Regions from separate parts of the Homo sapiens genome. Here all the other regions are linked to region 2. The links are contacts of gene promoters, found by promoter capture Hi-C in blood cells and fetal thymus (Javierre and others, 2016). All regions are on one chromosome and are shown on one strand. The core of a region is centred on a gene start or on the middle of the fragment in contact, and the rest is flanking DNA. Distances in the headings are between cores, read along the strand shown.

Evidence for each region. The method cuts DNA at HindIII sites, captures the fragments that hold promoters and counts their contacts. A CHiCAGO score of 5 or more calls a contact.
Region 1: a contact is called between the fragment with the promoter of TMEM254 here and the fragment with the promoter of SH2D4B in region 2, in 3 of 17 cell types (naive CD8 T cells, activated CD4 T cells and non-activated CD4 T cells). The highest score is 7.6, in naive CD8 T cells.
Region 3: a contact is called between a fragment that was not itself captured here and the fragment with the promoter of SH2D4B in region 2, in 3 of 17 cell types (M2 macrophages, M0 macrophages and M1 macrophages). The highest score is 10.9, in M2 macrophages.
Region 4: a contact is called between a fragment that was not itself captured here and the fragment with the promoter of SH2D4B in region 2, in 2 of 17 cell types (M0 macrophages and M2 macrophages). The highest score is 6.4, in M0 macrophages.
Region 5: a fragment that was not itself captured here is called in contact with the fragment with the promoter of SH2D4B in region 2 in 4 of 17 cell types (M2 macrophages, M0 macrophages, M1 macrophages and 1 more); the score reaches 11.6 in M2 macrophages.
Region 6: the fragment with the promoter of PLAC9 here is called in contact with the fragment with the promoter of SH2D4B in region 2 in 5 of 17 cell types (naive CD8 T cells, fetal thymus, neutrophils and 2 more); the score reaches 10.4 in naive CD8 T cells.
Region 7: a fragment that was not itself captured here is called in contact with the fragment with the promoter of SH2D4B in region 2 in 3 of 17 cell types (M2 macrophages, M0 macrophages and M1 macrophages); the score reaches 13.2 in M2 macrophages.

Annotation. Positions count from the first base shown.
Region 1 is chr10:80,077,276-80,080,261 of GRCh38, forward strand. It overlaps TMEM254 (transmembrane protein 254), which reads left to right and starts at 1,390. Exons shown (of 4, transcript NM_025125.4): 1 at 1,390-1,511. The coding sequence starts at 1,425. TMEM254-AS1 (TMEM254 antisense RNA 1) reads right to left here and starts at 1,918. Exons shown (of 4, transcript NR_027432.1): 1 at 1,452-1,918. The HindIII fragment of the contact is 2,319 bases long and covers 562-2,880 here.
Region 2 is chr10:80,536,534-80,539,721 of GRCh38, forward strand. It overlaps SH2D4B (SH2 domain containing 4B), which reads left to right and starts at 1,369. Exons shown (of 8, transcript NM_001388272.1): 1 at 1,369-1,982. The coding sequence starts at 1,799. RefSeq lists an enhancer at 3,073-3,188. The HindIII fragment of the contact is 17,935 bases long and covers 1-3,188 here.
Region 3 is chr10:80,918,510-80,921,743 of GRCh38, forward strand. No RefSeq gene overlaps it. Among named protein-coding and RNA genes, the nearest start is that of LINC02655, 270 kb to the left of the region's middle. The HindIII fragment of the contact is 6,328 bases long and covers 1-3,234 here.
Region 4 is chr10:80,959,291-80,962,203 of GRCh38, forward strand. No RefSeq gene overlaps it. Among named protein-coding and RNA genes, the nearest start is that of LINC02655, 310 kb to the left of the region's middle. The HindIII fragment of the contact is 747 bases long and covers 1,061-1,807 here.
Region 5 is chr10:80,940,687-80,943,690 of GRCh38, forward strand. It overlaps the pseudogene WARS2P1. Among named protein-coding and RNA genes, the nearest start is that of LINC02655, 290 kb to the left of the region's middle. The HindIII fragment of the contact is 1,555 bases long and covers 598-2,152 here.
Region 6 is chr10:80,131,289-80,134,482 of GRCh38, forward strand. PLAC9 (placenta associated 9) reads left to right here and starts at 1,442. Exons shown (of 4, transcript NM_001012973.3): 1 at 1,442-1,538. The coding sequence starts at 1,475. The HindIII fragment of the contact is 6,415 bases long and covers 1-3,194 here.
Region 7 is chr10:81,016,968-81,019,879 of GRCh38, forward strand. No RefSeq gene overlaps it. Among named protein-coding and RNA genes, the nearest start is that of LINC02655, 370 kb to the left of the region's middle. The HindIII fragment of the contact is 1,274 bases long and covers 657-1,930 here.

The DNA of each region.
Region 1 (2,986 bases), core at 140-2,639, 460 kb before region 2:
CTGCAACCTCCGCCTCCGGTGCTCAAGCAATTCTCGTGCCTCAGCCTCCCAAGTAGTTGGGACTATAGACACGCGCCACCACCCCCAGCTAATTTTTTGTATTTTAGTAGAGACAGGGTTTCACCATGTTCTCCAGGGTGGTCTCGAACTCCTGAGCGATCCACCCACCTCGGCCTCCAAAAGTGCCAGGATTATAGGCTTGAGCCACTGCGCTTGGCCAGTAACCCATTTTTAAGGCCCAGGTGAAATAGTTTTTCTATTTCTATGATTTTCTATTTCTATGATTAAATAGTGTTTAATCAGACACTTCAGCTGCATATACCTCCCACAGCTCATTGATGATACAACAGTTCGCACAGGGCCTGGCACACATGCTAAAGGCTCAGCAGTATTGATAATCACCCACACTTACAAAGCACTATGGGCCAGACACTGCTGTGCTTTCTTTACAGATATCAACTCATTTAACCCACCCTAAAAACCCTGAGGTTCCCAAAACTGGCATATCCTCATGTTACAGATACAGAAACTAAGACACAGCCGGGCTAAGTAATTAATCTAAGCTTACACAAATAGCCGAGACAGAGCCAGGACTTAAATCCAGGCAGCCTGTTTCACAGTCCCTGCTCATAACCATGGTGCTGTATAGTTCCAAACATCTTAACTAATGAGGACAGCATTATTTCTCAAGGTGCACAGCACAGAGAACTTCAAAAATTAGACTCTTAGTAAAACACCATCTTTTTTTTTTTTTTTTGAGACAGGGTCTTGCTGTGTTGCCCAGGCTGGAGTGCAGTGGCGTGATCTGGGCCCACTGCAACCTGCACCTCTCAGGTTCAAGAGAGTCTTGTCTCAGCCTCTGGAGTTGCTGGGACTACAGGCAGGCACCACCGCGCCCAGCAAATTTTTTGTATTTTTAGTACAGACGGGGTTTCACCATGTTGACCACGCTGGTCTCAAACTCCTGACCTCAAGTGATCTGCCCGACTCGGCCTCCCAAATTGCTGGAATTTATTCCAACACCTCATTCATTCATTCATTCATTCGAGACAGAGTCTAGCTATGTTACCCGGGCTGGTCTCAAACTCCTGGGCTCAAGGGATCTTTCTACCTCAGCCTCCCAACGTGCTGAGATTACAGGGACACGCCACCGCGCCAGCCCGAACATCTTTATCTTAAACCCAGAAAAGTGACAGGAGTGTCTCCCCTACAAGATGATGACCAGCCCTCCAGACCTGAGCCCAGGTGTGATTCCAAGGCCCCTGTACTGGGGCCAGACAGGGAGACTCGCTCTCAGGGACTTCCCAACCAGCACCATCTTCTCCCTGCGGGGATGGCGAGGGAGCGCGGGCCGGCCCCGGCCCTGCCTCCGCGCTCGCGCTCGACGGTGTCCTGAAGCGCGCTCCCGGGGAGGTGTTGCAGCCATGGCTACGGCAGCCGGCGCGACCTACTTTCAGCGAGGCAGTCTGTTCTGGTTCACAGTCATCACCCTCAGCTTTGGCTACTACACAGTAAGGACAGCCGCTGGAGCGCTACGGTCTGACGAACGAGCGAGCGCTCGGTTCACCCCAGGACCTGGGCTCACAGGCCGCGGGCCGGGGGAAGTCGTGCAAGCACAATCCCGACTCCCGCGCGCTAGGAGCGGAGGGGAGGGGACCAGACTCCGCAATGAGAGCAAGCATACTGGTCCGCCAGGGTCTTGGGCGGGCGCCCAGGGCCCTGAGAAACCGGCTAGCCAGGCTTTTCTTATATGGGGGCGGGGACGGCTGGGGAGCTCCCAGCCAACTCTGTGTCTGGGTTTTTCAAGAGGATGGTGAAGTCGGAGGCCAGCAATGCGGCTACCGCCTATTTCCGTCCAGCAAGACCCTTGCCCTCTCTGGTCACAGTCCTGGGGCTGGGCTACTTCGCGGTGAGGCGTGGGGTGGGGCGGGGCGGGCCTCTGTTTTGGCCCGCCGGGCCCTCGTAGGGCGAGGGGAGCTCTGGGAACGGGGCCTGTGCGCACGCGCATCTGACGGTTGTCTCGGTTACTCATGTAAGCGGAAATTCGGTGGGCTCTTAGGATAGTTTCTGCTTTCTAGTGTTCCTGTCTTTGGGTCCTCACCTCTGCATGGTTACTAACGGGTTATCCGAGCCTAAGCCTCTCACGAAGCGGAAAGTCAAGTTAACAGACTGCCATAGGCCTGCCAAGTCAGAATAGGGCTTCCGAAGCAGAATGTTTGAGCCAATAGGAATTGTTTGGAAAACGGGGATAAATCTAAAGGATGGGTAGGATTTAAGTGGTAAGGGAGGATAAAGAGGCTATAACTGTTCTGACATAGGTGTGGAAGCAAGAAGAAAGCTGTACCTAGAAAAAGAGCGACGTTTGTTTGGCTGAGAAATAATCTGTTTAAAGGATAACGAGAAAGATGCGTGGAAAAGTAGGTTGGGGGCTAAGGTGGTAGTTTTGTGTTTTTTTGAGACGGAGTCTCGCTCTGTCACCCAGGCTGGAGTGCAGTGGGGCGATCTCGGCTCACTGCAACCTCTGCTTCCCAGGTTCAAGCGATTCTCATGTCTTTACCTGTAGCTGGGATTACACTATGCCCAGCTATTTTTTTGTGTTTTTAGTAGACATGGGTATTGGTGAGGCTGGCCTCGAACTCCTAACGTCAAGTGATAAGGTGGTAAAATTTTGAAGGAAGGCGAAGCTATTTGGGTATACCAATAGATCCTGGAGATTGGAGATTTGTCTTGTCCACAGTGTTGTTTGTTGGTGTCAAATCTGACAACCTATGTCCTGATTTCCCCATATGTACAATGGAGGTGTTGAACTGAAAATTTTCAAAGGTGCATTTCTGTTCTACGATTTAGTGTCTGTGACTAGTTAGAATATAGTTGGAGGAAAGCTTTGGGGACTTCAAATTGGGATCTTGTGGAGCTGGCAGATGCTCCCCTTTCCCTTTGGTTTGGGAGGATGCAGTGATATTTGTGCATTATTTAACTTTCAGAT
Region 2 (3,188 bases), core at 119-2,618:
CGAGGGGGAGAAAGAGAATAGCTGGGCAGAGGCTAGGGAAGACCCCCGGTCTCAGAAACTGAGGGGAGCCAGGACTCCCGGTGGGGGAGTCGGTGCAAGCCCTGAGGTGGGTGGATGGGAGTCCAGGGCCACAGCTCTGCAGCGGACAGGCGAGTCCTGTGGCGGCTCTAGGAAGGTCTGGGCACACTGGGACCAGCTAGCTGGACCTGGGTGGGGAGGGGTGGGGCGTCTGACTCCACTCCTGTGACCTGGACATTGCCTAGCTGAGCAGGAGCTTTGACCCTATGGGCTTACAGCTCATCTGAATCTGCTTAGTCCATCTTCCTGTTGTGTTAACCTTGCAGAGGGGGAAGAATGCCAACTCTCCACCCCTCTTCCATCACTCTTGGGTACCTGATCCACCTTCCACCCTCATGGGCAAGGAAGGGGACAGGAAGGTCACCAATCCAACCAAGCCACAGTGCCAAATCCTGTTGGTTCGTTTGTTTTCCCTTGGTTGGGTTATGTTTTCAAACCATCAACAGATTCATAGTTGCTAGTGGATGTCAAATTTCAAAACGGGGGAGTCCCAATACAGTGACTTGTCCATTAGGAAGCCATAGGCAAGCCACTTACTTTCTCTGAGCTTCAATATCCTTGTCCCAATAAGAAGGCATCTGTGATTTGCTCTGAGCACATATTTAGGGTGAGCTTTCACCCTAAAGATCTCAGCAACGGCAGCTTCTACCCACCTTCACACACCAAAGAGAGGGTGGCTTCCCTCCCAGCAGAAGGCAACATCCCGCCATTCCAGTGTGCTTCTGATCAGGGCACAGAGAAGAGCCAGTTTCATCTTCTTTCTTTTTGGTCAACTCCAGGCATCTGCAACAAACAAGATTAACAACGACCATTAAAACTGGCCCCTGGAGGGTTTATCTGTCAGCCACGCATGGCTGCAGGATCTCATTATATATAGGCCAAAGGGAAAGGATGTCTGCTTCCTTTCTGTCCTGGAATTCCAAGATAAAATCCCCTCCAGTTGTCTCTACTGATTCCATTTTGTTTTCTTTCTTGGCTGTAACACAGATAGGAGGAAAAATCTTTCCTCCCCCAAGGCAGAGTTTTAAACGCATCATCTCAGAATGCCAAATGTTCTGGAAAGGAAGAAAGTTGGCAGCGAAGGAACCCGCAGAGAGAGGGGCTGAGAGGGCTGAGGGGCCCAGCAGCTTCTGGCAGGCTCCTCTGGTCTGTGTTTGAAATTGGCTGAAAAGACATGGAATTTAGTAGGCAAGTCTGCCTCCTTCTCCTCCTCTTATCTGCAGAGGAGAGATCAGTTCCCAGCTGGCCGGGGCAGTGTCATTGATATAGCTGGTGTCATTGTTACCTTCCACTAACAGATCACTCGACACCTACCAGCCCAGGCAGGGCTGGGACTGGGCATTTCCTGGCTGAGCTGGAGGCTTGGGCCCTTCCCATTGTCTCAGAACCCCAGGTGATGCCAAGACATGGGCTCTCCTGGGATGCCGTGCTTGGTGACCCAGGAGAAGGACTAGATTGCTCCTGGTGGTTGCTCCCCCTTGCAGAGTCCCACCTGCCCCTTTGGGTCCTGTTGCCTGGCCTCTTTTGCTGTCCTGGGTAGAGGAGATGAGTTCGTCGCTGGCTGCAAGCTGAGGCCAACTGACAATGCTGCACAGAGAAGGGGCACCGAGAGTGGCCCCGGATTGAGCAGTCCGTAGTGCAGAGCAGCCCCTCGGGCGTTCTGCCTGGCCCTGCTTCCCCTGCTGGCTGCCCTTCTGGTGCGTGCATCCCAGGTGGCATCATGCTGCAGCAGATCCTGCACGACATGTACATCGACCCCGAGCTCCTTGCCGAGCTCAGCGATGTGCAGAAGCACATCCTCTTCTACAAAATGCGGGAGGAGCAGCTGAGGCGCTGGAAGGAGCGGGAGACTTGGGAGGCCCTGGCCCAGGACGAGGGTCTCAGGCCTCCAAAGACCAAGCGAGGTACGTGGCTGGGAGTCACAGAGAGGTAGGCCACCAGTCCCCCAGGAGGTAGAAAAATTAGCAGGGCCAGGCTGTGCCCTTCTTCAAGATGGGCACTGGGGTGATGAGGGCTGGGGGCTTGAAACCCTTGTCTTGTGGGCATCAGGTCCCATGAGCCTGTGCTTTTGCCTTTTGGCCAGGACCTTAGGGCTTCGAGGCTGCTGCAGAGGCTGTCCAGCGGCCCTTATTGGAGTCGGGGAGTTGGGACTTGCTTTGTCTTGTTGTGGAAGGCCCGAGTTCTGGGAAGACACCATTGAGACTTCAGATTGTGCTCCGACGTGGTTGGCAATGGTAGGGTGAACGACGGCATATTTGTGACCCTTGCCATTGGTTCTGGGCCAGAGTGTGGTGTAGATATGCAGTTCCTTTCTCCTTGGCATGCGTGGCACACCAGTTCTTGGCTAGGGCCCCTTCTGTGGACTGTGCCTCTCCCTCCAGATCCTCCGGCAGGAGGATGCTGTGGGTTGTCTCTGGAGCCCCACTGGGCATCCGGAGAGAGGGCATCAGGGAACGTCCCACACAATGAATGACCATCCCCAAATGGTCGTAGCAACTGCAGATGAGAAGCAAGGGCCTAGCCTACATTTCAGGTGTTTTGTATGCAAAGTCATGTGCCAGTCAATCCTATGGACTGGTACACCTGTGGGTGAAGGAAATCATCCAGGACCCCTGGGCCAGAAACTGGCAGGCTGCTGAGGCTTGGCTTGGCACAGGACTCAATCCTGCCAGGGATTGTAGTTTCTGTGGATGCTGCATGCACTTTACAGTTTGCAAGGCTTATGTGCCTTCACCCTTTGAAGTTTTCAATCCAGAACAAAGTCCTGTTTCAGGGCTGAGCACACAGCTCCCTTGGTGATCTGGCTCTTCTCCATGCCAGGCTCACTGCTGGCCAGTCCCCACCAGGTGCCACAGGCCACACCCACATCATCTGGACATGCTTGCTCTTGTCTCTGGTCTTCACATGAGTGGCTCTCACCGTTGGGAATGTCCTTCTGCCTTCATCCACCTGACAGACTCCATCAGGAGTGGCCCCCCTGCCCTGGAGTGTTCAGGGATGCTCTTGCATAGGGCAGTACTTGCTCCTCTGTGGCTGCCTGGCATGTAGGACCCACGCCTGCCCTGGCATTTGCCACCCTGTCATTGTCATTCCTCATCTGCTTGCCTGGC
Region 3 (3,234 bases), core at 486-2,985, 380 kb after region 2:
AAGGAACTGCTTGTGTATTTGTGTATTTAATTTTTTGAATTTTGAGATACATTTGTGAGTTCATGCTGCTATTATCAAAATTTGCCAGCCCTAATGGTAATATGAAGCATATTTGCACTGACACTTTCAATGGTTTCTATTATTGGTACCTGGACAGGCAGGGAAATAAAGCCCTATTTGTTAAAACTAAAAAATTAAGAGGAAACCAAGTCATGGATTTGAATGTATATTCCAGAACTTTATAATTTTGGACAATTTAATAAGACCAAAATTCCCTCTATATTTCCTTTATTTGCTAACTGACAGGCTGGAAGAGGAATTAATGAGAAATTTTATTTGAAGTGTTTCATAATATCTATATTAAATTAGATGCCATTTAAGTTTGGGATATTTTCTCCAGTTATTGTTTTTATTATTATTGATTTGGAAAATGATGAAACAGCATCCTTGAATTATAGATGTGAATAGCGAAGTTCAGCATTTTAATAAAAAATAAAATAAAAATGTCAAGCACCTGCTAGACATCCAGAATTCTTCTGTGCTCTACATGGAGTGTGCTATATATAGAGTGATGTATTAGGCAAGGTTTCTCTTGTAGAGAGACTTATGAACTAGAGGATAGGGCCTTAGAGAGTTTTATATTTCACAATATAGATGAGGAAATGACTTGATTCCCTTGCTGAAATACAGCTCAACAAGAATGTGCTCCCTCCTTCTTGTCTACTTAAGAGAGAAGGGGTGTTAGAGCATGGTGCGGAGTGACTGCGTTAGCAGCCTGGCCACAGATGACATGACCTGTTTAGGATGAGAGGATGCCTAAATGCCATTTATTTTTATCTAATATCCTAACATTATTTCTGGAGAGAGCAGACAATGAAGTAAAGTGAGGGTGGATTCAGGAATCAGAAAGACATGGCTTCATGTCCTTGTTCAGTACTGTACAAGCATTTTGTGTTTGGGTGCAAATGACTAATGTGTTTGAACCTCAGTTTTCTTATCTATAAAAATGAAGATAATACAAAGAGGCTGAAATAAGATAACAACAAAAACACCATCCCAATGTCTTACTCCTAGTCTGTGTTTAATGAATAGTAGCTTTTGTTTGTTGTGGTGAGGGTTAGGAAGGTGCTTATGTCTGGATAAAGGGAATTTAAGAGAGTCATGTTCCCAAGTGAAAGAAAACAAAAGACCTTCAGGTTATCTGTACGTAGCATCATGTTGTCAAAAACTGTAGCTGAGAGATGAGAACTCCAAAATTGGCATACTTTGCTAGAATATTGGGCATTTCCCTGCACTGGTTTTCATCACTTCCTGTTCATATTCTTCTCTGTCTCTTTTTCTCAGAGAGAAAAGCAGTGAATGTTTTGAGTAATACATTCAATGGATTTATATTTCAAAACAAGGAAGGAGGGTGATTTGGTGGAGAGGGAAGATTAAAGGGGGAGGGTAGTTTAAGACTTAGAATCAAGGAAAGCAGTGAGGGAAAGGAGGAATGTGGCCCGAAGGCTTGAGGCTCAGGGAAGAATCTGAGTGGGGCCAAAATGTGAGCTGGGGTGTTCAGCAGCAGGAACCCCTCATTTTCAAGCACTGGCCTGTTGGGGGTGCTGAGATTGCAGGATGAGAAGTAAAGGCTGGAAACGTCTCTTTCAGGCCTGATTCCACTAGAGAGTCTTCCTGAGGAAGGTGAAAATAATTTCGTTCCTATTCTAGTGATATAGGAGTTAAGAAGAAATCACTTAGGCAGACAGTAAAGGTATGGGAGTCCTCTGTAAGGCTTTTCTTTTTAATGAAAAGCAGCCCCAAATCATTTCCTAACAAAGAGCAGTCTGTAAAGTAGAGCTGCAAACATAGACAAGCAAGCTGGGAGCTTGCATGGGTGAATGCCGGCAGGAACTAGGGACTAGATGTGTTAAAGATGGCAGCTCCATCTTCCCTTGTCTACCAGCCACGTGTGCAGTAAAGAGCAGACAAGATGGCACTGGCCAAGGAGAGTTTATTTGCATCGTAAGGTTAGGGTGGGGCGACCAGCCTTCTCTGAGCGCTATGTAAACGTTACACCTGATGGAACCAATCTGTGAGCCCTACCTAAATCAGACACCGCTTCCTCAAGCTGGACTATAAAATGTGCATCCGCCACTAGTCAGTCTTTTCTGCTGGGAAGGCTCCTTTCTCTCAATAGAGAGAGCTGTTTTTCTCTCCCTTTTCTTCTGCCTATTAAACCTCCATTCCTAAACTCCTGGTGTGTCTCCGTGTCCTCAATTTTTCTGCCGCGAGATGATGAATCCTAGGTATATACCCCAGACAATGTAACAGCTTCACTAGGAGTGGAATTTTAATAATTATGTAAAACCACAAGGAGCAGCCAGAGGAGGAGAAGGTGTAGAAGTGAGAGAAGCCAGGAGGACTGTAGTGGCAGCCTGAAATGGTCAAATGTTTTCATCCCCAATGAATAGAATTCTAATCACTATGCATTAGTATAAGCACAGGAACTGTGCTAAGTTTAATAAACAGCCTTATTTTCATCTTTTACATGACATTTGTATAACATGTATAATTTCTATAAATTGCCTTGGTGTCCAGAGATGTATACATGTCTCTAAAGGAAGAAGCCCTCATATGCTAAATGAATTATGATGATCGACTTACTTGGGTTAATAATTGATTCACATGAAAGTGAGTAACAGACCAAATTAGAAATTGCTAATTGCCCCATTAGTGACTTGAGAGAGAGAGAAAAAAAAAAAACCTCACACTTTAAACTGTTGTCAATTTGACTGTAGGCGAAAATTTAATTTCTCTAAAAAAAAAAAATAGCATTCAAAGTAGTCAACTTTAAGTAGAATCTGTTCTCCAGGCTTTTTGTTTTCTCTTTAGATGTAGATGCCTTTCTTATCTCCAGTTTCCAATCAGATTTAGATAGCTATAGATATAGGTACTGATTGATGCATTCATCCATCCCCACTTCCAGCACACTACCCCTTCCACCCTTTTGATGTTCCTAGCTTAACCAGAAGAAATAAGCCTGTCATCATCAGTGAAAGGAAGGTAAAGAGTGTCTTGCAGTGGTTATGGTTATGGTCCTAGAAATTTGAGAATTGGTTTGCAATTCTAGCTCTAGTGCTTATTTACTGTGTGATCCTAGATAAGTTCTTGAACCTCTCTGAGCCACTTACTCATGAACAAAAGTAGATAAAATAATAGCATTATAATGAGGATTACATGAAATAATGTCTA
Region 4 (2,913 bases), core at 184-2,683, 420 kb after region 2:
TTTTAATTTGAGTCTTACAATTATGGATGCAGATAGCATTTCTTGACACTGTGCTGATTCTTAATAGAATGCTCAACACACATTTCATTTTAGATCAGTTCTTGAAGATCCATATAATATATAAAACCAAAATTGCTCTCCTTAAAAATCTGAATTTTCATGTTAGAGTTTCTGAGCTCTATCATTTCTCTCATCGTTCACCTCTGCCTTGTTCAAACATGCTCCATCTATTTATCCCCTATTTATCCCTTAAGACTTGCTTAATAGCATTAAGATAGTTTTACATTTATTATGTCTTAAGAGTAAACATTATGTCTTTTCAATGATTATCTTTTTTCAATCTTTACTTACAATTAAAATAACAAAAATAGTAACATAAAATTAAAATTAAAAATAAAATGACAAATTCCATGTTTGGGCTTTACTCAGGTGCATCTAGTTTTAACTAGTATCAAATTAACCTTCTTTTTAAATATAACTTTCTTCTCTCCAGATAGAGTGACTGCAGTGAATATCTTTGGGTGAAGCCAATTTTCTTCTTTGCAGTTGTTTCAGGTAGCAAATTAGGAGTCAATTGCTGGATCAAAGAAACCATCACTTGAATTTTTATAATTCTTTCCAAATGTTTGAACCATTTTACAGTGCCACCCACTTATTGATTTTAGGAGCAATTATTTTGTAGCTTTCAAATCCATTTCCTCACAAATTCCATTTCTCTGCCTTGCTGATTTTCAAATTTATAGGCATAGATGCAAATGTTTAAGATAATTTTGTTACATTGCTATTAAAGTGTTTTTATGGGAGATAGAAGGAAGGTATGAGAAGAGTTTTGTTTCATTTTAGGTGCTAGAAACAAGGATAATATTAAAAATAATCAACAGCTCATTTGATATAGATATTGCATAATTAAAAGTAGTATCTGATCAATCAGAGTGAACAGCAAGGTGAAAAACCCATACAGTTAGATTAGTGCATCTGAATGAATATCAGTCCTAGCTAGGAAGACAGACAATGAGCTGCTAATTTAAATATAGTTGAGACACCATAACTTGGATTCAGAAGCTTACCCTGAGATATTTAACTTGAGTTGCTAGTCACTTCATCATTAACTGCCAACTACTACAACTATTAGACTTTGAAAAGATGAGGAACTTGAACAGTTAACAGAAACTGAGAAGATTCTCACTCTTAGTTATAAGCAGATAAATGTAATTCAAAAGAAATCTAATTTTATACCCAATATTGGCAAAGATTGGAATGTTGAATAATTTCTGGTGTTGACCAAGATATAGAGAAAAAACATGTTACAGCTATTGAAAGTGTAAATTCATACTGTCTTTTGAGAGAGCAATCTGGCAGTACTTAGAGAAATGAAGAATGGGTATTCCATATGAGCCAGGCTCCCACTCACTCAGGTCATAGGCAGACAAGGGTGAGAATGCTTATCATGACACAGTTTGAGATGAGCAACAGAGGTGCCCACATTCATTATAATGAATAATAAAAATGGGATGCATGGATATAAAGCCATATGGACAGATTTTAAAATACAATGTTGTGTGAAGCTATTAATAAATAGAAAAAGGCCTATAGCACAATGTCATTTATGTAAATTAAAATGTTTTATTTAAAATAACAAAAGGTGAATTATAAAATGTTAAATAATTAATCTCAATACACTGTATTTTTATTTTGCAATCCAGTATAAATTACTATCCTCATACTTTAAATATTTTTCTTTATCCCTAATGTGAAAAGTAATTTTTAATTTTTAGATTTCATTGTTTTCTAAGAAATCTGGAGAAGAAGCTTATTTGATAGTAGAAATGGTTTAAACGATAAAAAAAGATAAAATGACAAAATGCATAATTGTATGTATGTATATATAAAGAGAGATTACAATTAGATTGATAAACAGAAATCATCAAATTTCCCTCCAGATGAGCCTTTACCAAGGTCATGCATCCAGCATCTTCTTTTTATGGGATGGAAAAAGTAGGGCAGGAAAGGTAGTGGGGACTGGGTTGGAGGGGTACAATAAAATGCAACAATTGGGGCATATAACATGCAAATGTGATAATAGTATTCTTTAATCTAAGCAGTATGATTAACTCAACTGTTTCTACTGAGATCAAAGTAGAAAGAAAGAAAACGAAGAAAGGAAGGAGTCAGGGAGGGGCAGAGAACAAGACACAGAGAGAGAGGAAGTTTGGCAGGCATAAAGACAGATGCAAGGGAATAAATAAAGAAAAGTGAAGCAGTATTTTCTTTTTTGGAGGCAGTGGACTGTACATAAAAATTAAATTTAGTACCTCAACAGGGTAGTTGCAAAAATTTTGGAAGGGAAGTAAAAAGCAAAACTGGGAAAACATATTTGCAAAATATATAATAGTCAAAGGGTTATTTTCTTTGGCATATTAGGCAATCCTACAAGTTCACAACTCAATAGCAAAGAACATTTATAGTATAGACAGTTCACAGAAGGACTACAAATAGCTAAAAATTATATTAAAAATTGCTAGAATTATTCATAATGAAAGTACTGTAAACAAAACAATAATTTGATTTGTTCACTTATTAAACTGTCGCATATTACCAAGTTTTATAATGCCCAACACTGGTGAATGGAAGAATTCTAGAAATTTCATATTCTGTTGAAGAGAGTATATAATTAATACAGCCTCATTTAAAGGACAATTTGACCATATCATTCAAAATTTAAGATGTGTTTCTATTTGACTCACATGTCTTAGAAATTATCCTATGCATTTATTAACATGTGGAAATACATATGTATTTATCATCTGTGTAATTTGGGTAATTTCTTTAACTTCTATGTGCGTCATTTTCCTTATTTGGGTAAAACTGAGGTAATAATAGTGACTACTTCATAAAGTTGATGTGAGGATTGAA
Region 5 (3,004 bases), core at 125-2,624, 400 kb after region 2:
ACTTCATGAAGTTAAACTGGGGACTGGAAGGGATTTCTTCAAACTTCTTTTTGAAACCTTGTGTGAGATCCTGTACTGGTTCCTTGGGCTGGACTCACCCTCCCCCTATCAAAGCCATGTTTGTGGTCTTATATAACATAACATCTGCAGCCTGAAGCCTGGGGCTTAGTGGGCCCATGGGGCCATCATGATTCTGGCTTGCTTGCTCTGCCTTTCCCTGGTGTAAGTATTGTAACTATGGCATCCTGGCCAAGTATGTAAGACTCCAACTTAATCATGTGCAGTCAGACAGCAGAGACTGTTGAAAAAGATGACTTTCTCTTTATTTATACCACCATGGTATTCAGGATGTGCTCTCCAAGGAGAACTGGAGCCTGTAAGATGTGGATGAGTTGTGCATCAGTGGTGCTTGACAGTACAGTGCCTTACTTAGTCTTTCTACAGCTTCACCTAACTCTAATGACTGTCAGTTATTTGCAAGTATGGAAGGTCCCCGTGAGCTGAATGCCTGCAAATATTTAATGTATGTCATGCTGCTTGAGGACAAGATCAGCCACTATTCCTCTGCAAAATTCCTGGTCCAAGGTCCTGTGCTGAAGCTTTATGCAAGGTTGTTGATTGTTTAATTGTGTATCACAAGCAAAGAAATAAAGAGCCTGAATGGATAATGGTAGGCAATTAGCAAAACAAATTATTTGAGATACATCATGTGTAGTAGACAGAATTTTGGTCCCTGTAATCTCTGCTACCTTGGTGTTACTCCTGTGGTTATGTTGTGTTAAGTGGCAAAAGGGAATTTGCAGATGGGTTACTAGTTAGTTTATATTTAAATAGGAAAATTATCCTGGATATTTAGGTGGCCCAGTGTAAACACTCGAGGCCCTAAAAGCAGAGGAGGAAGGCAGAGAGGGGCAGTAGAAGGGGAAGCCAGAGATATAGGAAGCACAAGAAAGATTTGCCATTATTGTTGGCTTGAAGATGAAAGAGATACTCTGTCCAAAAACAGGAGCATCAATCCTACAATTGCAAGGAACAGAATTCTGCCCATAGCTAGTGAGCTTGGAAGAGGGTCCCAAGCCCCAGGTGAGAACTGCAGCCCCTGCCAATACTTCGATTTCAGCCTTGTAAGACCCTCAGAAACTGCAAGATAATAAATAGGCCTTATTTAAGCTGCTAAGTTTGTGGTAATTTGTTATGGCAACAATAGATAACTAACACATGATATGAAATACCATGAAAGGAAATGCCATGTATCTCTTAAAATTGTCTTGGAAGTAATCATGTGTTGAATTGCAAAATGAAATTCAAAGTATGACTCTGATGTGTAGAAAAAATGTACTTTTCTTAATTTTTATCTATAATTTATACAACCTTCTCTCTCAAGTCCCTACCCACAGGTTAGTGGGAAGAATGACCTGTGTTTAGTCTTGCTTTAAGCCTAGTCCAGGCTGATAACTTAAATGGTAACTTTGGGTAATATTGAGTCACTTTTTCATAAAAAATACTGTTTGTCTTAATTTCTTCCCCTCCTCATGCTTCCTTCTCTCAGATGGGAGGATATGTTTGAAATTGCATCCAGGAGGTGATTTAGGAGAACACATGGCATTGGACGGGAAAAATGATCCTCTAATCTTCATGGTGACTTTTAATTTATGCTTAGTCTGCTGGTCTTCAGGACAATATTCCTTCTGCCTGAACTGTTGGCCCCGCTGGCATTCAAGACAGAAAATTTTGACTAATATAAGTCATATGCCCATCATTCTCAGCTATGTTGGGCCTCTGTTCTCTTTGGCTGACTCTGCTGTGCCCACCTTGTGTCTCCCTGGCAGAAGAAGACTGACGTTTGGCTGGGTCTCTGCTGTGGTTCAGTTCAGAGGAAGTGCTTTGTGGCAGCTGCTAGAGACTCCCCTTGCTCCCTTCCTGGTGCCCTTCAACATGCTCCACAGCAGGACTCACAACATCTTTGAATCCCATGTCTATCACACGGAAACTAGGAATGGCTCAGGAAGAGCCACATCTCCCTGGTCAACAGGTCATGGCCAAACCTGAGATGAAGCAGGGCCATTTATCTGCTTGTCTCAATGCCTTTTTTTCTGTCTTTCTCTTTTCCTATTACGTCTCCTCTGTCATAGCCTCCTATCATCAAGAGAAAAGCTTTATGAATTTATTGTCCTGTGTAGAAGGTCTATCTCTGCCAAACTGTGGGAGAACTCTGTAAGTATGTATCTGTCAGGCACGGCCGCTGCAATTTTAAATAGAGGAGATAAAGAAATTTTGAAAATCCTGTCTCAAAATGCTTGCCTCTCAAGCTAATTTTCTTGTGGCAAAATCCTAGTTTTCTTATCAGAAGCTGATTATTGCTTTGTTCTTTCCATTTCTTCTGAAACATATGTTCAACTGCCTGCAGAAAGATGGATAAGGTAAGAGAGAGAACACATTAATAATGTTCAAAATATCAACACATTAGAATTACTTACTGTCTTCGATCCTATCTTATTAAAGAATAAAGTTATAAAACAGTGAAAAAATTGTAATCATATAGAAGAAAATTGAAAACCTGAACACAAAGTTAATTTCAATTGCATAGTAGAAGGCTTGTGGAGATTTTGGATTTATTTTTTGTCTCTTTTTTTTCCAATTTTTCTTCTGTGAATTTACATTATTTTTTATAACTTCACAAAAATAACGTATTATATTTAAAACTTAGGATACTTAATCCACATATTCTTCCTTCTTTTTTCCCCTTTTTGTTCTAATTTATTCCTTCAGTTACTTCCTCTGTCTCAGGTACCGAAGTGCCAAAATTGGTTAATCTTTTGCTCAACTTAGCGTCCTCATGCAATTTGAAGTTACAATTCAACATGAATTCAGAGATTTTCAGCATAGCTCTATGGCCCTCTCAGAATATTAATATTTCCAGCTTTTCATGTTTTTTGAAATGCATCATTATTCTATGATTCTATGTGTATTTGGCTTTATATTAGTTTAATGTTTTAATAGCTAA
Region 6 (3,194 bases), core at 192-2,691, 410 kb before region 2:
CTGGACCTGAATCATTGGACGGAGGGAATTCGTAACAGAAAAGACTTTCATGTTTTACTCTGTATACTTAATTACTTTATGCTCTACCGCAACAATAATGTATTGTATATGTTTTTGTGTGTGTGTGTGTTTTCTTAGTCTTAAATTCAAAATATAAGGTAGCCCACTGGCTCTAAGCTACAAGAATCCTTATGAGTTGGGCAGTTCTTTGACAACTTTTTTTCCCACCTGGCGAAACTATCAAGGAATGTCCTACCACCAAGCGTGAGAAATTTTTGGCATTCCTGAAATAAATTCTTCTTCTGAGCCAGCTCATGTGGGCATCATAATCTCCTTGAAGGCTTTTAAAAGATTTAGATCTGAGTCTGTCTCAGATTCTCGGGCTCAGAACCAGAATTTCTCCGTCTGAGGCTACTATCTTGCTCTGGAGGAGGGAGTGAGAACTGGATCACTGGTTAGCGTGGTAACTGTTTTGGACAATTGCATAGCCACAGCCAGGAACACAGAAGGCAGAGAGGCAGCCTTGATCTGCAAGAGCTCCAGGTAATCCCAACGGGGACCCTTGATGGACAAAGGCATTCTCCCAGGCTTGGTGATGAATGTGTTCCACTTACAGCCAGACGAGACACTCACTCAGGGCTCTGCAGCAGAGAAGTTAGAGCTACAGCTTTTTTGCTTTGTGTTTTTACTAAAACTTAATTTGTTGTTGCACTTGTTGGATGGGCATGTCCCATAGGGGAAGTTTCCACTACTGTGCTCTAAACTTTGGGCTGCTTGTACCATCTTACTTATCCCCTCATTAATAATGAATTGAATAAAATCTTTAGTATATGCTAATTTCATATCTTTGCGAGAGTTACGATTTTACCTTTTCTTTTTAAAATTACCTTTTCATATTTCTATCACTCCCTTACCAGAGCAGTGAGTTTCTGGGTCTCCCTCTTAGGGGCAGACACTGTTCCATGTAATTAGAATTAATTTCTTGTTCGTAGGTAGACAGAGAAAAGCTGCCAAACTCCCAGGAGACAGGGGTTCAGATCCTGTGCTATGGCTGAGAGTGATGCCGAGGAAGACACTTCCCTCCGAGTCTTAGTCTGCCCGCCTGTGAAACTGGCTCGTAACAAACCCCTGACCCCAGGCTCGGTCGCCTTGAGCCCAAGACCTCACCCAATGCCCCCCGCCCCGCCTTCCCTCCCGGGCTCCCAGGAGGTGCGGGGACTCGGGGGGCGGCCCCTTCCTCGGGAGGCGCCCAGGTGGCACGTCGGTGCCTCAGCTCCCGGGGTCTCTGGGCTCCGCGCTGCCCACGGGGTGCCGAGGGGCCTCTGGAGGGGGCGGGTTCTCTCGAGCCAGAAAGTCCGGAGCCGCCCAGGAATTTTGGCTCGAACTGAGTGCATTTCCTCTCGGGCCGGCCGGGTGCGATCCGGGAAGGGCGGCTGCGGGCAGACGCGGCGCTGCGCTCGGCCAGGCCGGCACCATGCGGCCCCTGCTCTGCGCGCTGACCGGACTGGCCCTGCTCCGCGCCGCGGGCTCTTTGGCCGGTGAGTGGGGCGCAGGGCGCGGCAGGGGACCTGGAGCCGGGGAGACCCGCAGATGGCGAGGAAGGAATGAGCGAGAGAGACGGAGAGAGAGCTGGACACAGCAGCGAGATGGACAGAGAGGCAGATGCAGGGAGGGAGGGATGGAGAGAAAGATTGAGAGGAAACAGACTCAGAAAAAGGCAGAGAAGTAGAGCAACGGAGAGATAAAGGAGATAGGGAAGAATACACAGTGAAAAGGAAAAAGGAGAGGCTGAGACAGAAAGAGGCTTCCCCTGAACAGATATGAACTAAGATAGAAAGAAAAAGGAGTTTGAGAGACAAAAGAGAAGAAGGAAAGAGAAAAAGTGATTAAAATGGCAAGGGGTGGAGGGAGAGAGGATATTGAAGAAAAGAGAAAGATTTGAGAGAGACCAAAAAGGAGAGAGAGGGAAGCTCGATGCCCGGAGTAGAGCTGGCAAGAGAGAAGGAGCCAGGATCTGGAGTGGGAGGTCACAGCTGCTGGGTGGGGCAGCCCCGGAGGCCAGCTCCATCTCAGAGGGCCTGTGGAGGCTCAGGCCTGGCTTTATAGGACATTGCATAAGAAGCCACACTCCAAAGGATGAGTGACCCAGGCTAGCCCAGCACAGCCTTAAGGAACCAGGCAGTCGGGCCCAGGAGAAAGGCCACCGATTCACCTGCCAGGTGGCCTCAGGTGGATCTGCAGTCAGTGAAGAAGTCAGCCTCCCGGTTTCCAGGGAGCTTCTCTGGGAAACTGAGCTATGTTGGGTGGAGATGGGGGACTGGGTGGAGGTGGAGAGCTGTGCGGAGGAGAGAGGCTGTCTGGGTACTCCATTAGCTGGGTTCCTTGCTTTTCACTGTCCGCTTTCTTCCCCTCACCTACCCCTCAGGCGGGCGGATCACAAGCTCAGGAGATCAAGACCAGCCTCGCTAACATGGTGAAATGCTGTCTCTATTAAAAATACAAAAAATTAATCGGGCGTGGTGGCACATGCCTGTAGTCCCAGCTACTCGGCAGGCTGAGGCAGGAGAATCACTTGAACCTGGGAGGCGGAGGTTGCAGTGAGCCGAGATCAAGCCACCGCAATCCAGCCTGGGTGACAGAGCAAGACTCAGTTTCAAAAAAAAAAAAAAAAGAAGAAGGAAAGGAGGAAAGTATTCATGTATTAGTGTAATTTCACACTGATTTCATATATTTTTGTGCATAATCTTTCAGATTTTAGATGATATATCTTAACTTTTGATTATGAAAACTTTTGGATACAAAAAAATACAAAGTAATAGTATGTGAAAGAATCATGTAATATACTTATCAACGCTGCTTCAAGAAGTATCAGTTCATGGGCAGTTTTATCTCATCTATAGCCTCCACCCTCTCTCCCCTCCCTGGATTATTTTAAAGGAAATCCAGGCATTGTATATTTTCTTTCTTTCTTTCTTTCTTTTTTTTTTTTTTTTGAGACAGGATTTCATTCTGTCACCCATGCTAGAATGCAGTGGCACAATCTCAGCTCACTGCAACCTCCGTCTCCCGGGTTCAACTGATTCTCCTGCCTCAGCCTCCTGAGTAGCTGGGACTACAGGCACGCACCACCACACCTGACTAATTTTGGTATTTTTAGTAGAGATAGGGTTTCACCATGTTGGCCAGGCTGGTCT
Region 7 (2,912 bases), core at 44-2,543, 480 kb after region 2:
GGAGTTTCCCAATCCTCTTTCTAGGTGATGAAATTATTTTTATTAATAATCACAATAATCAATGAATAATCCATATTTTAGGGATTCATCTTTAGTTTTAAAACAACTAAAGCAGAAGAATAAAATTCAAATAATATTATACTTTACAGTTGGCTCCCTGTTTCACTGTTTTACATTTTAACATACATAAAATCTCCAAGTAGTCATATTTAATAATTCAATTAAATAGAATTCTATTTCTTCATTTTTATAGTCATGGTGTGATTATTGCTGATTTCTAATATCATATCATGTGTTGGAGACTCACTGTTCCCAAAGCATGCAATTGGAAACCATTATTGTATTTGTTTGCTAAGGCTGCCATAGCAAGATACCACAGAGTGGGTGGGTTAAACAATAGAAATTTAATTTCTCACAGTTCTGAGGGCTGAAAGTAAGTCCAGGATCAAGGTGTCAGCAGGGCTGGGTTCTCCTGAGGCTCCTCTCCTTGTCCTGCAGATGGCTGCCTTCTGGCCGAGTCCTCACATAGCATTTCCTCTGTGTGTGCACATCTCTGATGTCTCCCCATGTGTCCTGATCTCCTTGTATCAAGACACCAGTCAGATTGGATTAAGGGCATCTTAGCGACCTTATTTTCAATTACTTTCCTTTTTAAAAGCTTTGTCTTCAAATACAGTCTCATTCTGAGGTGCTGGGGGTTAGGGCTTCAACATGAATTTGGGTAGGGGTGGCACAGAATTCGGCCCATAACAATTATAAATTTAACTCTTGAAAGAATGTTTGTAGCTTGTACCCTTGTGTTGGGACCTAACCATGTAACTGGAAGTTCTCTGGATTAGTGTCCATGTTGAACTCAGAGTTTATTAAAGAATACATAATAATAGTGCTAATTTTACACACACTCACACACATATATACTTAAGACTCAGTAGTAAGCACACTATTGTTTAGAATTTAAATCAACACAGGATATTTTATTCAATGAAGAATATTCTATCACTGACATTGCTCAGAAATTCTGGCCCAGAGTGATGATTAAAAGCAGACCAATTTTAGTTATTTTTTAAATTGTTTTTAAGTTTTCTGCAGAGAACGTGCCCCCTTATTGCCTGAAGTCAGTGCAGATCACTCTAACAGTGATCTTGGTCCACCTCTGTCCATGGAATTTTATATTTATGCTTTATGCACTTTTCTGCATTGGTGTTATATTTCAATATGTTTAAAAAGTGTTGACTTGGAAGCTAGATAGATCAAGGTTCAAATCCTCCATATGTATAAATGATGCTGTCCTTTGCAAGCTGCTAATCTTCTCCATGCTTTGGCTTCTCACTCAGAAAATGAGGATTACACTATACCTCCCAGGAGCATTACGAAGATTTAAATAAAATCAGATACTACATATAAATACTTAGTCAAGTTCCAGGCACAGAATAAAATGCCCACTGATGGAGTTTGAATGCATGTCCCTGCCAAATCTTGTGTTGAATTGTAATCCCCAATGCTGGAGGTGGGATCTGGTGGAAGGTGCTTGGGTCATGGGGGCGGGTCTTTTATGGCTTGGTGCTGTGTTCATGATAATGAGTTCTTGTGAGGTCTGGTCATTTCAAAAGTGTCTGGCACTTCTCCTCCGACTCTCTCTCACTTGCTCCTGCTTTCAACATGTGACGTGCCTATTCCCTCTTTGCCTTTCGCTATGATTGAAACCTCCCTGAGGCTTCACCAGAAGCTGAGTAGATGCCAGCACTATGCTTCCTGTAAAGCCTGCAGAACCATGAGCCAATTAAGACTATTTTCTTTATAAATTACCCAGTCTCAGGTATTTCTTTATATAGCAACACAAGAATGGACGAATATACTCACTATTGAGTGAATCACATAGAGAGTTCTAGTTATTGTCATTTCACTTGTTTGTCTAAATTACTCAATCTCAAGCTTCCTGTGAGGAGATACAATCTTAGATGAATGACTTAATTTGCTAGCTCTTATGTGACAAGCACTGTTAGTGAGAAGATGACCCGTGTTTATAGACTTGTGGAGCAGGCAATCAAGTAGGAAAAACACAGCAATATATCTTACTGTGTTAGTGGAGAAATGTGTAGGAAGCTGTGGGAGAACCAATAAGGGAGCAACTGAGTTGCTGGAGCGATCAGGAAAAGACTAGCTAGAGGAGATTAATTTGAGCTTGATTTTGAAACCTGCGAACAGACAATGGAAAGGCATGACCTGCACAAAGGTTACTAGAGATGCTTCCTATAGGGCAGTGGTTCCCTTGGGGACAATTTTTCTCCACGGAGGATATTTGGCAATGTCTGGAGATCTTTTTGTTTATCAGAACTGTGGAGGTGCTACTGACATCTAGTGGGCAGAGGCAAGAGTTGCTGCTAAACATCTTGCAAGGCACAGGACAGCCCCTAGGCCGAAGAATTATCCTGCCCACAGTGTCAATACAGCTGAAGTTGAGAAAGCCTGCTGTAAGGTTTCCTTTGAAGAAACATAAAAAAAAAAAAAAAAAAGAAAACATAAAATATACTTGGGTAATTTATTATTATATCTTTTATTATTATATTTTAAAATTGATATTTGGCGGGGATGGCAGATGGCTTGCTTTTCAAAGTACACCCCAAAGTTGTAAGAATAGCAACCCCAGTCAGGCCCCAAGGAAGGGCTAGTGTGGGGGACCCTGTCCCAACTCCCCACACATCCGGGCATCACAGTGCAGTTTCCAGAAACAGCAGTGGGTGGCAGAAGACGCTACTGCAGTGAGGCAGAACTGCCCATTAGAAACAAGGAACACATTGGGCCTCTAGTATCTTCAGGTGAATGCAGGAAAAAATGGACTTTGAGAATCAGAAGAAGAAAAAAAATTCCTTAAATGATAAAAAAAAAAAAGCATCGGAAAACATAGAAGAGTA